3 separate regions of the Homo sapiens genome follow, and regions 2 and 3 are each linked to region 1. The links are contacts of gene promoters, found by promoter capture Hi-C in blood cells and fetal thymus (Javierre and others, 2016). All regions are on one chromosome and are shown on one strand. The core of a region is centred on a gene start or on the middle of the fragment in contact, and the rest is flanking DNA. Distances in the headings are between cores, read along the strand shown.

The links. Contacts are between HindIII fragments. The CHiCAGO score rates a contact against its expected background, and 5 or more counts as called.
Region 2: a contact is called between a fragment that was not itself captured here and the fragment with the promoter of BPGM in region 1, in 5 of 17 cell types (fetal thymus, total B cells, neutrophils and 2 more). The highest score is 19.7, in fetal thymus.
Region 3: a contact is called between the fragment with the promoter of WEE2-AS1 here and the fragment with the promoter of BPGM in region 1, in 3 of 17 cell types (total B cells, activated CD4 T cells and fetal thymus). The highest score is 9.4, in total B cells.

What each region holds. Positions count from the first base shown.
Region 1 is chr7:134,645,044-134,649,767 of GRCh38, forward strand. BPGM (bisphosphoglycerate mutase) reads left to right here and starts at 1,810. Exons shown (of 3, transcript NM_001724.5): 1 at 1,810-1,894. All of the region lies in intron 1 of LOC124901750 (a long non-coding RNA gene), which reads right to left. RefSeq lists enhancers at 1,787-1,936, 2,037-2,146. The HindIII fragment of the contact is 1,395 bases long and covers 1,136-2,530 here.
Region 2 is chr7:141,011,599-141,016,688 of GRCh38, forward strand. It overlaps MRPS33 (mitochondrial ribosomal protein S33), which reads right to left and starts at 3,354. Exons shown (of 3, transcript NM_053035.3): 1 at 3,313-3,354. RefSeq lists enhancers at 1,793-1,862, 3,005-3,650, 3,113-3,162, 3,683-3,882 and a silencer at 3,227-3,535. The HindIII fragment of the contact is 2,107 bases long and covers 1,313-3,419 here.
Region 3 is chr7:141,734,840-141,739,291 of GRCh38, forward strand. WEE2-AS1 (WEE2 antisense RNA 1) reads right to left here and starts at 3,203. Exons shown (of 4, transcript NR_199841.1): 1 at 2,544-3,203. It overlaps SSBP1 (single stranded DNA binding protein 1), which reads left to right and starts at 3,519. Exons shown (of 7, transcript NM_003143.3): 1 at 3,519-3,571; 2 at 4,285-4,351. The coding sequence starts at 4,328. RefSeq lists an enhancer at 2,536-3,421. The HindIII fragment of the contact is 7,644 bases long and covers 3,108-4,452 here.

The DNA.
Region 1 (4,724 bases), core at 560-3,059:
CAGGATATGATACTGTAACATAATTAAGTATGGAGAACAATCTTGCCATAGGGCAAAAGTAACTCCTGAAATTCTGTTAGCCTCTGTGCACATTTGTCTTACAAACATGCTTGCTCCTGATGAAAATCTGCTTTTTAATTCCTTCTAGACAGAATCACTGATATAAGCTTCCATCTTATATCAAAATGACTCATTCATAAGCCACATACTCTTGCGAATGATTCTAAAAGGCAAGTGATGTTTGATATTAAGGTTTTATGTGACAAGCTAGCATTCCATGGGTGTCCATAACAACAGTAAACTTAAATCCAATGAGTAGGCGCCCTTAAGTCCAGACTAAGTAGCCCTAAATGCCAAATGCCACAAGACTGTCACTTGGTAATGACTGTCATTAGCCTCCGGAGTATGGATGGTGGGCACTCTGAATAGGAGCTTTATTACACTGTAGAAGAAAAGCTTTCTCCTTACTTTGTCCTCAACTGATATTGAGAAAAAAGCAAGAGGGCAAATGTATAAGATTTGGAAGCTGCCCCTTCCAGCTGTTCTGGCCTGAACTCTAGTTAATCTTGTGCAAGTTAAATTCTAACTATCACTAGGTGAGACCTATCACCTGCTGGGACCTGTCAAGCCTCGGATTAGTGCCGTCCCGGAAGTAAAGTTCTGTTGATATCCCAGGAGGAACTGTCATGCTCTAACATGGATAAATGAGATACAGAACTGGCTACGATTAGGTCTTAATGAGTTCAATAAAGAGTGTGTCACAGAATTTCAAATGTGGAAAGATTATCTTTTCAACTGTATGTATAATTTATTCTGAGGACTTGCTTGCGTGTCACAAACCTAATGCATTTGTTAGGAGGATGAAACAGGAAAAACTCACAGGAGGACACGAAACACTACTTAGGATAGCTTCTAAGAAGGGAATCTCCCATAACATTCCTTATCTTTCCCGCCCACCCAAGAGTTCTGACACATATGCTTCAAAACCTCGTGTGGTAGTTCAAGCCTGCTTAGAAGCTTTTAAGGCCTCGTGCCAGGTTTCCGGTGTTTTCATAGATTTCTCTTGTTCAGTTATTGTCGCCTCCAAATTTGTCATTCTCTCATTCCACTCTAGCCTCCCTTCCTCTGTGCAATAAGCTTTTAGGGCATTCCATTAATCACTTTTCTTCCCCACCTAAAATACTGTCAGCAAACTGCCTAGGGGAATCCCTATAAAAGCGGTAAGAGAAAGTAAGGTTGCGTTACTGCCTATAAATTGGGCACTTTAAAGGCATTTGTTTTAATCACGACTTAAGACTTTCAACCACGAGTAATTTGTGCGAAAGGAGCTTCTTCTGGGAGGATACCTCGGCTTCGTCTTCAGGTTTCAATCCCTAAATTTCCCATAAGTAAAAGAAACATCACCTCCTCTCTTCCAAGAGTCCGCTGACACCTGTCTTCACCCGCAGGTGTTTCTTTTAAGACGTTAAACGCTTTCTAGAACCTCAAACAGCTAAGATGCTCCCCGCACCCGAGGTTTTGCACCAGCGACGCTCTAGGGTGTGTTTTTCTACTTCCCTAGGCCCAAGCCTGCCCGCTGGCGTCGAAGCCAACTCCTTACTGGTTCAGGTATGTGCTCGTCTCTAGAGTAAACCAATCAGAGCCCCACTTCTTACTCCTGGGATTTGGTAAACGGAAGAGACCTCTCCTGTTCCGGGAGTAGGCCGGGACCGTGGATGAGTGACAGTTCGACTTTCCAATAGGCAGAGCCCTAGGACCTGCCCACGTCTGGTTCAGGGGCTAGAAAAGAGCGTCGATGCCGGCGGCAGTGATGAGTCCTAGGAGGCGCTGGCTCTTTGGCGGCTCGGAGGAGCGGCTGCTGCTGCTGCTGCTGCTGCTGGTGGCCCCTTTGCAGGTGAGTGGCTTTGTTTTAGAAAATGTTGCGAACGTTTACATTTTTTAGTGATGTGATGTTTTATTTTTGGGTGCGGGGAAGGCCAGTTTCTTTACTTCCCCCGGTTTAGTCGTTGGTGGGAGTCTGGTGCCCACTCCAGCCCTCAAGCTGGGACCCTCACTTATCGCCCCGGTCCCTTTCCCTTGTCCCTATCTCAGAATGAGCCTCGCAGGCAGTCACCGTTCTGTCAACTGAGAGGAGGAGCCCGCTTTGGTAGTGCTGTCCTTATGGCAAGAATATATAGAAGTTGGAGGGAAGATAAACTCTCTTCTGGATGTCTGAGGTACTGTGTAGCAGAGCCCTTCCAATAGTAAGATCCCCTGGAAGGAAGCAGGGCGATGCCGCTGTATTTAGGGTTCTGGCAGACCTGGCCCTATCTATCATTTTGTGTAGTAGACAGAAAAACTCGAATGCGGTGAAAAGAGAAGGAGGTGAATATATGCAGTGTTTTCATGTAGGAATCTGGAGCCAAATCACAAGTTCTTAGAACCACTAGAAATAAAAACGTAAGTGTATTTTCCTCTTTTCTAAGGGACGAGCTGGTATTACACTAGAGAAGGTCAATGAAATGCATAATTGCAGTTAAGTTCACAGTTAAGCTTTAAAGAATAGTTGGTTGTTAGCTAACTTATAACTCTCATCCCCCTACTGCCTCCCTTGCAAATTACGGAAGATCTTTAGCTTGTGAGTGGTACTAGAATGTTAGCTGACTAAATGCAGACTCTTTCCAAGAAGGGGAAAAATCAAAAGCTAAGTTTCACCTGTAGGTACTAAAGGTTTTTTAATAGTGAAAGCAGAACTCATGTCAATTTGTCTTTTATTTTTTATTTTTTTTGAAACGGAGTCTCGCTCTGTCGCCCAGGCTGGAGCGACTGCAGTGGCTCGATCTCGGTTCACTGCAACCTCCGCCTACCGGGTTCAAGTGATTCTCCTGCCTCAGCCTCCCAAGTAGCTGGGATTACAAGCATAGGCCACCACGCCTGGCTGATTTTTGTATTTTTAGTAGAGACGGGGTTTCACCATGTTGGCCAGGGTGGTCTTGAACTCCTGACCTCAGGTGATCTGCCTGCCTCGGCCTCCCAAAGTGCTGGGATTACAGGCGTGAGCCACCGTGCCTGGCCTTGTCTTTTTTCTTTCTTTCTTTCTTTTGTTTTGGTTTTTTTTTTGTTTTGTTTTCAGACGGAGTTTCGCTTCTGTTGCCCAGGCTGGAGTGCAATGGCGCGATATTGGCTCACCGCAACCTCCGCCTCCTGGATTCAATCGATTCTCCTGCCTCAGCCTCCCGAGTAGCTGGGATTACAGGCATGCGCCCCCACGCCCAGCTAATTTTGTGTTTTTAGTAGAGACAGGATTTCACCATGTTGGCCAGGCTGGTCTCGAATTCCTGACCTCAGGTGATCTGCCTGCCTCGGCCTCCCAAAGTGCTGGGATTACAGGTGTGAGCTACCGCGCCCGGCCTTCTTTTTTTTTGAACTGCCTCCCGTGAGTCCAGGGAATAGCTCTTTCTTAGCCATCTTTGTATTCCAGTAGCACCTCATACACCGCAGATGCTCCCCAGTTGGTGGTGGACTTCAGAGAAGCATAATTCAAACAGTGTCATAGTGGAAGGAGCTCTGAGTTAGAAATCAAGAACATTGGCTTTAGTCCTGAAACTGTTACTATTTGTGTGATCTTAAACAAATCATTTCAACTGTGACTCTTAATTTTTGCATTTTTTTTTTGAGACAGGGTCTCGCTCTGTTGCCCAGGCTGGAGGGCAGTGGCGCAATCTCTGCTCACTGCAACCTCCACCTCTGCCTCCTGGGCTCAAGCGATCCTACCATCTCGATTTTTGCATCTTTAGAAAGCAGATGTTGCATTAAATTATATCTGAGATATAAACTCTGTATTTAAAGTCTGTTTTAAAGTAAAAATTATTAGTATACAAGCAGAATCTCATTGCAGTAAATTCTGTACCATCTATTAGCAAGTAAAAGTTCCCAGCTTCAAGGATATATTCTTGTTTTTTAATTTTTAATTTTTGTGGGTACCTAGTAGGTGTATATATTTATGGGTTACATGAGATATTTTGACATAGGCATGCAATGCATAATCACATCAGAGTACATAGGGTAGCTGTCACCAAAAGCATTTATCCTTTATGTTTCAAACAATCCAATTGTACTCTTTTAGTTATTTGAAAATTTACAATTAAATTGTTTTTTTTTTTACTATAGTCACCCTGTTGTGCTAGCAAATACTAGGTCTTATTGATCTTCCTATTTTTGTCCCCATTACAAGGATATACTCTTTTGTGTTCCTATTTAAACCAAACCAGATTATTGTAGAAAATTTGGAGCATACCGAAGTATAATGTGGCAGAAAAATGTCACTTAGAAGCAACTACTGTTAGTGTTTGGGTAGAGCTTTTAGTCTTTCTTCCTCTTTTGCCTGCTGTGGTTGGTTGAGATTAAGAGGCACATTTTAAGTAATGATTGATGCACCTAAATTCACCTGGCCTTCATCTTTGTGTGTCTGGGGCCTGAAGAACAGAGGTCACAAACGTGTTTGAACCGAATGGTTTCTTGAAACATCCTTGGAATGAAATCTGATATGAAAGATGTTTATATGGGTGGCAGGACAAAAAGTATTACTTAATAACAAAACCCTTCTGCTGAAACTTAGCCACAAATATGAGGAAAACATACTTTGTAAAATATAAATTAAATGTTAACCACTTCATTAAAGCATTTGGATTGCAGAATATTAGTACTTGGTAAGCTTCTGAGACTGTATCTTACCATCACCTTCT
Region 2 (5,090 bases), core at 1,116-3,615, 6.4 Mb after region 1:
CCAATTTATGAGAAATTTTAGTAGTGAGATGAGAATCTTTGCTGACTCAGAGACTATCCTGGGAAACAGTTCAGCTGAGATGAAAAGGTGCTGATATTCAAGCAGGAAAAAGGCATAAACTTTGAAAAACCAATGGGAGAAATGTACCAAAAACCCTCCTACATAAAAATGGTGCCAAGTGAATTTCAAAATAGTTCTTGTAAGAAAACAAACCGTGTTTAAATTAAGGAAGTTTTAATGCCTGTTTCAAGATCCATTAACAGAGGAGGCTGGGCATGGTAGCTCATGCCTATAATCCCAGTACTTTGAGAGGCTGAGGTGGGAGGATCGCTTGAGGTCAGGACTTCAAGACCAGCCCAGGCAACATGGAGAAATCTTGTTTTTACAGAAAAAAAAACAAAAAACAAAAGAAAATAAGAAAATTAGTCTGCTATGGTAGTGCACACCTGTAGTTCCAGCTACTCGTGGAGGCTGAGGAGGGGGACATCACTTGAGCACAGGAGTTTGAGGTTACACTAAGTTATGACTGCACTACTGTACTCTATAGCCTGAGTGACAGAGCAAGATTGTGTGTCAAAAAAAAAAAAAAAAAAAAAGCAGAGGCTGATCTCAAACCACTGTCAACCTCAAAACCATTCAGAACACCAACCAAGCAATTTTGGGTCAATAGTGCCACCTGAAGGCTGGCAACGGTAGAACTGTCAGATCCAACGTCCACCCCTCCCTCCCCACCATCTGCAGATCACCTACAAGCCTGTTCTTCCTTTTCCATTCAGCATTCTCAGTTTCCTGATTCACTTCTTTGCCAACTCTGGTTGGGGGTGGGGTTGTTAGGACTAGGGTTATAGTCTCAAGGTGAAAAAAATTCATTTAGCAGTTTAATGTATAAACAAATCAGTGCCATAAACCTCTAAAAAGCCTTGCAAATGTCCAGAGTCACCTAGTTTCTTTGCATGCTTTTTCTCTTCCTTTGCCCTTTAAAGTTACCTTTTTCCAAACATTAGATTAAAAAACAATAGTTGCTTCATCAACTTTGCTTTGTTTGCTTAATTACCATTGTGGCATCAGAATATATTTCTGCTGTAATTGCACAGTATTTCCACAGTTAGTTATCTGTAAGCTGGTATGGGAACTATCAGTTTGTTACAGTGTTTTCAGGAAAATCTGTTCTGAATTCCAAGTCCCTTTATTTGTCAATGAAGAGGCAACAGGGATTCCTGAGGCCTAGGTTTGACTACTGGCTCTGTCACTTAATCCTTGGGTTATTGTGAACAGTTACTCATCTTCTCTGAGTCTCCTTTTCTGAAAACAAAGCTTGCATGACTAGTGCGAAAATGAGTAACAGTGGCACTGAGTAGTAAATGGTAACTTACAAAAAAGAACGAGCCCAGATCTGTAAGTTTGGTTTTCATATATTCTACATAGACACATTTGTTTATTCCTTGTTCTTAATCATGTTTAAGAAAAAAAAAAAAAGAGAGAGAGACAGACAGATAGATACTCCATATAGTAAAAACTTTGTGCCTCCCTGGAATGATGACCTCATTTACAAAGACTGACAGCCAGAGAAACATAGGGAGAGGACCAGCACCTTGATAACTTGACAAGATAGCCAGGAGGAGGAAGGGACTCAGTAGGACAGTAGTCACTGAAGCCATCACAGGATGCTGCTGTTATGTCCATGCCCATTTTGGAATGTGGCAAATTACTGGGATACATAACTTGTAAGTAAAAAGGTCACACTAGAATAGGCTGGAACATGGTTATATCATAAAATCCAAGTCCTAAAGTTTTATGACAGAGAAAGGGAATAAGCCTTTTCAAACCTGAATCCCTTACTAGAAACAAAGGCCCACTTGCTAAACAGGAGGAAACTGAAAGTGGTTTTAACAATTACCAATGACACTGCTTTGTTGTTTCCTTCCACAGTGCACAGACACATGTCTCTCACGAAGAATAACACGGGAGCTTTTCTTACAACGTGCATGTCAATTACATTTTGATTCACATGAAACCATTCTCGGGGAGTACAAGTCACTTTAAGTGTTACCTTTCTTTAAATGTGAACTAAAGAAAACTGTACTCTCATGAAAAAAGTTAACTGGAGCTGAAAATGCTAAGCAAAAACAAATTACTCAAATGTGCTGAGCAAAACAAATTAAGCCCACATGAGAAGAAAATTCCCATATTTTTACTTTGGCATAACAGGGCAAACTTCTTTGATCTTTTTGATAGGTCTGATGCATTTAAAAGATTATTTCAATAAGTGGCTTTGTATTAGGTTTGCCTTTTCTCTTTGAAAGGTAAAGATGAAGTGCAAGAGTTCTTAACCGGGATGTGCTTCAGCGTTTTGAAAACAGTGGAAGTGTACATCTGTATGCCGATATGTGTATGTATGTGTGTGTGTAAATTGTTCTGGGAGAGAGCTTTCTCCAGTTTCCCAAAAACCATTGGTTAGCAGAACGCACCAGCTGCAGAATAAAAAAGCTGGTTGGAATCTCGCCTCTGCCTTTTAATGGCCACGTCGTTTTTGTAATGGTGCTTATTCTCTGCCAGGTTCTCTCATCGACTACACGAGGACAGTCATACTATCTGCGATGTGAAGCTAATATGCAAAATTCACGGCACAGTGCCCACCCTAATAACCATCAGGATCCAAGGAATTCACATACAGTGTACACACGTTGTCATAGAAACAATCTAAACATAAAAACAATCTCAACAGAATGCTTAAAAACAAAAAAACCCGGTACCGATTATTTTACGGAGTCATAGAGGCATCAACGGCACTGAAAATGTATTAGCTGCATTCAGTTCATCAAGAACAATCTTCAACTCCCTCCACCTGACTCGATCATGCCTGACTGTGATGGAAACTGTAGTATTGTCAAGTCAACCGATGTTTGACTCGGGAGCGCATTTCGCAAATATTTTTCTTAAATATCACCTTACCGTATTTTTCTTAAGGTGGTTACAAAATTAATCTGCAGCCCACCACCCAAAGCTACAGTGCCGAAGGCCGTGTGATGAGCAGAGAAACTGAGCCTTCTACTGTTAACCAATATGGAAGAGAGTAATTGCGCCTGAGAGGAAATTACGGCAGCGGAAACGCGGGTATTCTACGTTTAAGAAATCCCCCAACTGAGGCAGAAAAAGGCCAAGTTATTTGTGTGATGCACGTGAACCGCCCGAGCTGGTCACTAATGAAGTGGATTCGCCCTATTCCTGGCGACTCTACAAGGTTGGAGACCCCCGTAGACTTCGCAGCCATCGCCCCTTGCTGCAGACCCCCAAAGTCACCGACAGCCTTACCTAGACCTGACCTTCCTCACCCACGCGCCCTCGTCCCGGAAGGCCCGCCCTCTACCCGGCTCCAAGCTCGCGCAGGCAACTATTACGGGGAGCAGTAGAGAAACGGAAGCTTGGCAGCTAGAGCGGAGCCCTAGTGAACGACCCGGAGTTACTGGCTCCCCCTCCTGAGGCCTCCGAGGTGTACCTGGCGCCTGCGCAGTAAGGCTAGCGCCGCCGCCTGTGCGGAGGACCCGGGGAGGTGGTGGGCTGGGGAGAGTTAGAAAGGTCTGGCTCTCCTGGAAGGGCATGCACGGTTCGGTAGTATGTTTTGGTGGGAATGGCTACAGACCTGCCTCCAAAAGCTCTGAAGCAATGGCGATGCGTGTGCCGTGTGGTCTTTCTGACCGACTTGCGGCGCCATCCCCCTCCCCTTCCATCTATCTGCTCATCTTCTAATAGTTAATTAGGATCCCTAGCTGCAAGCCTTCCTTGCTACTGGGTTAGGAGCGCTTTCCCCCATTGACCCAGGAGCTTCTTCAGGGAGTAGGGGATGGAACGTTTGTCTCCTCAGTAGTTATCTTAGACCTCGCTGGGCAGATAGTAGAAAGCATTGTGAGTATTTCACCCCATACTAAATCTGTTTTCAAGCAAGCCACATCCCATAGGCATTGTATGCAGCACTTACTCAATGTTTGATAGTTTGGGTGAGGAAACTGTACTCGTTTTCTGAGTATCGTTCAAGGCATTTTATAAATATTTCAAAATGTACCCTGGAATTAATATCGGTAGTGAGTTGCCTACCTAGTGGGTATTGTATTTACACCCTCTTTCCTCCTACAGAATTTACTTTTAAGTTAGAATTTGACGTCTAATCAATCTATGCTATAGGATTTGCTTTTATCAAGTTAAGTTTTGACATGTTATCAGCCTTATATGATATAGTAAACAGCCTTATAAAGTTGGGTCTAGTGACTACATTTAAGTTTACAAAGGGGTAATGAGTATCCTATACATGGCTACAGTCCAGAAAAGAAGTCCTAAGGAGCGAAACTCCTGGGAGAAATTTCGTCTTGTCTTTTGTACTTGTTTCTGTGGAGTTGGCTTGTTTTTATGTAATGGCCACTGAATCATATAAACAAGAAGACTTCCTTTACGTGTAAGCTGCTGGTTTAAAGCCAAATTTTAATTGGCTCGAGGCAAGAGCTATATATATGTGTGTGTATATATATATATACACACACATATATATATTTTTTGCATAAACCTTGTTGGCTTCGTTTTGTATATCCTTCCTGTTTTTTCCTTTTCACGTATGAATTATTGGTGTTATCAATGTTTTGTGAATTACTATAAGCTACCATAAATCTTTCTTGAAACATAGCTAGGTATATAGAGTTTCAGGTGACTGTTTAGGTACTTTGCACTATCACTTTTATTAAGTCAATTTCATGGGGGTTCATATTAGTTTCCTGAGGCTGCTATAATAAAATACCACAAACTTGGTGTTGTAGAGCAACTGAAATTTATTATCTTACAGTTCTAGAGGCCATAAATTCAAAATCAGCATCACTGGGCCAAAATCAAGATGTTGACAGGGCTGTGTTCCCTCCAGAGACTCTAGGGGAGAATCAGTTCTTTGACTCTTCCAGCTTCTGGTGGCTGCTGGCATTCATTGGCTTGTGGCCACATCACTTTAGACTTCAAGGCCAACATCTTCACATCTCTGCTCCCTTTTCACATTGCCTTCACTATGTGTGTCAGACTTCCCATTGCCTCCCTTTTAGGAATGTGTAATTGCA
Region 3 (4,452 bases), core at 1,953-4,452, 7.1 Mb after region 1:
ACTGCCTGAATCCTGAAGGCCATGTGGCAAGGCCAAGGTGACCAGCCAAAGAGCAGCTGTTTGAGAAGCCAAACATCCCAGAGAATATCTGAGAACCTACCAAAGAAAACAGCTCCATCACACACAGTAGGCTAAAAGCCAGAAAATTAGCTTACAAGTAGCTTAGGGATGGGAGGCCAGGCGGATCTCTACAGCTGTCATGCTGCCATCCAGGAGTGCCTTGTATGTAAGTCCTGATAAACTCCTCTACTCGCCAAGCTGGACTTGTCTGGGTCAATCTTTGGTTTCTCGGCTTCCTCTCAGTTTGGGGGAAGGTTTTTATTAATGCAATTCTGGGTTTTTCTTGTTACAATATCTACTTTAAAAATTTTCAATACTTCTTCAACTACTTTAATGTTCTGGAAATATATGTGTATATATATTGATATATAACACATATACATATATATTGATATATATACACATATATACATACATATATTTTGTGTGATGATATATATATACCGTCTCAAAAATATATATGTGTATATATATTGAGATATATATACACACATATTTCATTCATACATATTGATATATATACACATATATATATACACACATATATATATTTTTTGAGACAGGGTCTCTCACTCTGTTGCACAGGCTGGAGTGCAGTGGTGTGATCATGGCTCACTGAAGCCTCAACTTCCCAGGCTCAAGCGATCCTCCCACTTCAGTAGCTGGGATTATAAGCACATACCACTATGCCTGGCTAATTTTTTTTTTTTTTTTTTGAGACGGAGTCTCGCACTGTTGCCCAGGCTGGAGTGCAGGGGCACGATCTCAGCTCACTGCAAGCTCCGTCTCCCGGGCTCTCGACATTCTCCTGCCTCAGCCTCCCTAGTAGTTGGGACTACAGGCACCCACTACCACGCCCAGCTAATTTTTTGTATTTTTAGGTAGAGACGGGGTTTCACCGTGTTAGCCGGGATGGTCTCGATCTCCTGACCTCGTGATCGGCCCGCCTTGGCCTCCCAAAGTGCTGGGATTATGGGCGTGAGCCACGGCGCCCGGCTGCCTGGCTAATTTTTGTATTTTTTACAGAGACAGGGTTTTGCCATGTTGCTCAAGCTGATCTTGAACTCCTGGGCTCAAGTGATCCACCCCCTCAACCTCCCAAAGTGCTGGGATTACAAACATGAGCTACTGGACCTGGCCAAAATTTTTTTAATTAAACATTTTTTTTTGTTTTTGTCTTTATTTTTAATTTTTGTGGGTTCAAAGGAAGTGTATATATTTATGGAGTACATGAGATATTTTGATACAGGTATGCAACGTCAAATAAGCACATCATGGGGGATGGGGTATCATCTTAATTTATCCTTTGAGTTACACACAATCCAATAACACTCTTATTTTAAAATGTACAGTTAAGTAATTATTGACTATAGTCAACCTATTGTGCCATCGAAAATAGTAGGTCTTATTCGTTCTATTTTTTTGTACCCATTAACCATCCCCACCTTCCCTCCAGCCCCCCACTAACCTTCCTAGCCCCAATTTTTAAAAATACATAAGTACACATATACACAGGGGTGCATATTCTTCCTTGTGCCTCAGGCTCCAGTCTGGCTTGGATCCTGTATTCAGTTAAAATTTTAATACAGTCATGCACTTCATAATGATGTTTTGGAAAAAGACTGCATATACAACAGTGCATATACAAAGGTGGTCCCATAAGATTACAATGGAGTTGAAAAATTCCTATCGTCTAGTGACATCATACCTGCTAAAACATCAGAATGCAATGTATTACTCATGTGTTACTTGATATTAATAATGACTATGTCACTGGTTTATGTATTTACTATACTTTTTATTATATTATTATTTAACTTATTTTTTAAAAGTTAACTGTAAAACAGCCTCAGGCAGGTCCTTCAGGAGGGATTCCAGAAGAAGACACTGTTATAGGAGATGACAGCTCCCTGTGTGTCACTGCTTCTGAAAACCTTCCAGTGGGACAAGATGTGGAAGTGGAAGGCTGAGATTGATCATAATGACCCTGTGTAGGCCTAGGCTAATGTGTGTGTTTATGTCTTAGTTTTTTTAAAAAATGGCTAAAAAGTTAAAAAAAAAAAGAAAAAAAGCAAAGGTAGAAAAAAGCTTGTAGAATAAGGATATAAGAAAAATATTTTTGTACAGTGGTACAGTGTGTGTTTTAAGCTAATTGTTATTACAAAACAGTTAAAACGTAAAAAAATTTGGAAGATTTATAAAGTTATAGTGAGTGAAAGTTTATTAAAGGAAGAAAAGTATTTTTTATAAACTGAGTGTAGCCTAAGTGTACAGTGTTTATGAAGTGTTTAGTGGGTACAATAATGTCCTAGACCTTCATGTTGGGCCACCACTCACTCATTTACTCACCCACAGCAACTTCCAGTTCCGCAAGCTCCATTCATGGTAAGCGCCCCATACAGGTGTGCCATTTTTATCTTTTATACCGCATTTGTACTGTACCTTTTCCATGTTTACATATGTTTAGACACACAGATACTTACCATGAATTACAATGGTCTGCGGTATTCAGTACAGCCCCATGCTGTCAGGTTTGCAGCCTGGAAGCAGCAGGCCACACCACAGAGCCGAGGTGTGTCCAGGCTCCACCATCTAGGTCGTCAAAGTACATTCTGTGGTGTTCGTACAGCAACAAAATCGCCTAATGACGCAATCCTCAGACCTTACCCTGTTGTTAAGGTACACATGACTCTTATTTTGTTCCTCCCGGATTTCCTGCATTAATTTTTACTTTTTAAAATATTACATTAATATATTATTTGATTGCCAGTTTTTCTGGTGCTCCCTTAAATTGCACAGCCTGCCAGCCCTTCCCTGGCTCCCCTTTCTTTTTCTGCTTTTCTTAGTGCTTCAACAGACCTGGGACGTTCTTTTTCTTTCTTTTTTTTTTTAATTTTCTTCTTTTTTTCTTTTTCTTGTTTTGTTTTGTTTTGTTTTGAGATAGAGTTCGCTCTGTTGCCCAGGCTGGAATGCAGTGGTGCGTTCACGGCTCAATGCAGCAACGACCTCCAGGGCTCAGGCGATCCCCCGACCTCAGCCTCCGGAGAAGCTTGGACCACAGGCGCGCGCCACCACGCCCAGCTAATTATATATTTTTTGTAGAGACAGGTCTCACTATGTCGCCTAGGCTGGTCACAAATGTTGCTTTTTTTTCCCTCCAGGCAGAGCTAGTCTCTGTTTTGCCTACCTCGCCCCCTCCTGGGCCCAGTTAGAAACCTCATCACATAATTTCATTTCTTTCCAAACTTGAAACCTTCTAAACTTGAAACCTTCTAAACTTGAAACCTTCCAAACTCACCACTTGGCGGCGTTGATCCATCCGCCCGCGCACAAAGAGAAGATCGCGGAACTTCAGAGTTAAGGGGAGCCGTTTCCCGCAGCGCTAGCCGGCAGTATTTCCAAGGCGCAAGTTGCGGAGTTTCTGTTTCCTTTTTCCTCTGGCGAGCTTTGCGTTCCCTGTGCGCCGGAAGTGATCCCCTGCGTGGCTGGGCTGCTCGGGTTAGATCGTCAGGTGAGGGAGGAAGGGATAGCCAGCGCGAAGGAAGTGCTGGAGTCGTGTGTTTTGGCTGCGCGTGATCCTGCGTGGGTCGGGAGGTGTTTCTGTGTAGGTGTCTGGCCCTTTCATCAGTCGTGCGGAGGACCGCGTGATTTCCTTCCAGTTCTCCTCGGTTTTCAGGTGGTGGCGCCATCTTCGGTAAAGGGTGTCCACCTCTCCCTATGGTGTGGCTGGCTAGCCCGGGGGTCTCTACGCTGCTTGGTCTTTGTTAACGGAGATGAAGGCAGTAATTTTTCAGTAACAGGTTTCAGATATAAGTCCCTTGGTGATGCTAATATTTATGGAGGCCTTACTATGCATTAAGAACTTTTTTAGAAGTTTAGAAAATGGCAGTGAATAAAGCAGATACAAATCTCTGCTCTAAGGGAGCTTGCATAGTAATGAAATTTGAGAAGACAGTGGATTGGAAGTGGGATTAACTCAGAATCAAAATTTTGTCGATGGGTTGGAGGAAGAGGAAGTTATTTGGGACCAAAAAGACATACAGGTGTGAGTTTATTTGGGAGGGAGGAAGGAATCCTCATCAGATGTGCAGGAATGTTGGTACGTTGTGGTCACAAAATTGGAGTGCATAAAAATTATGAATATAGTTAGGAATTTAGGACTGGTGAGTTGTACTTTTGCCATAAGAGGTAATGTTTTTTTCTTATTTTGTTTTTTTCCTTCAGGAAAAGCCTAAAGATTAGACTGTAAGAAAAGAAAATAGAAGCCATGTTTCGAAGACCTGTATTACAGGTAGTCACTTGTCTGTATTAATACTGAGATGTATTACTATCAGCCACAGTGATCAGAAGACTTCTTTAGGCTTTTAACTACAGGGGCAAAAGACCTTTGAG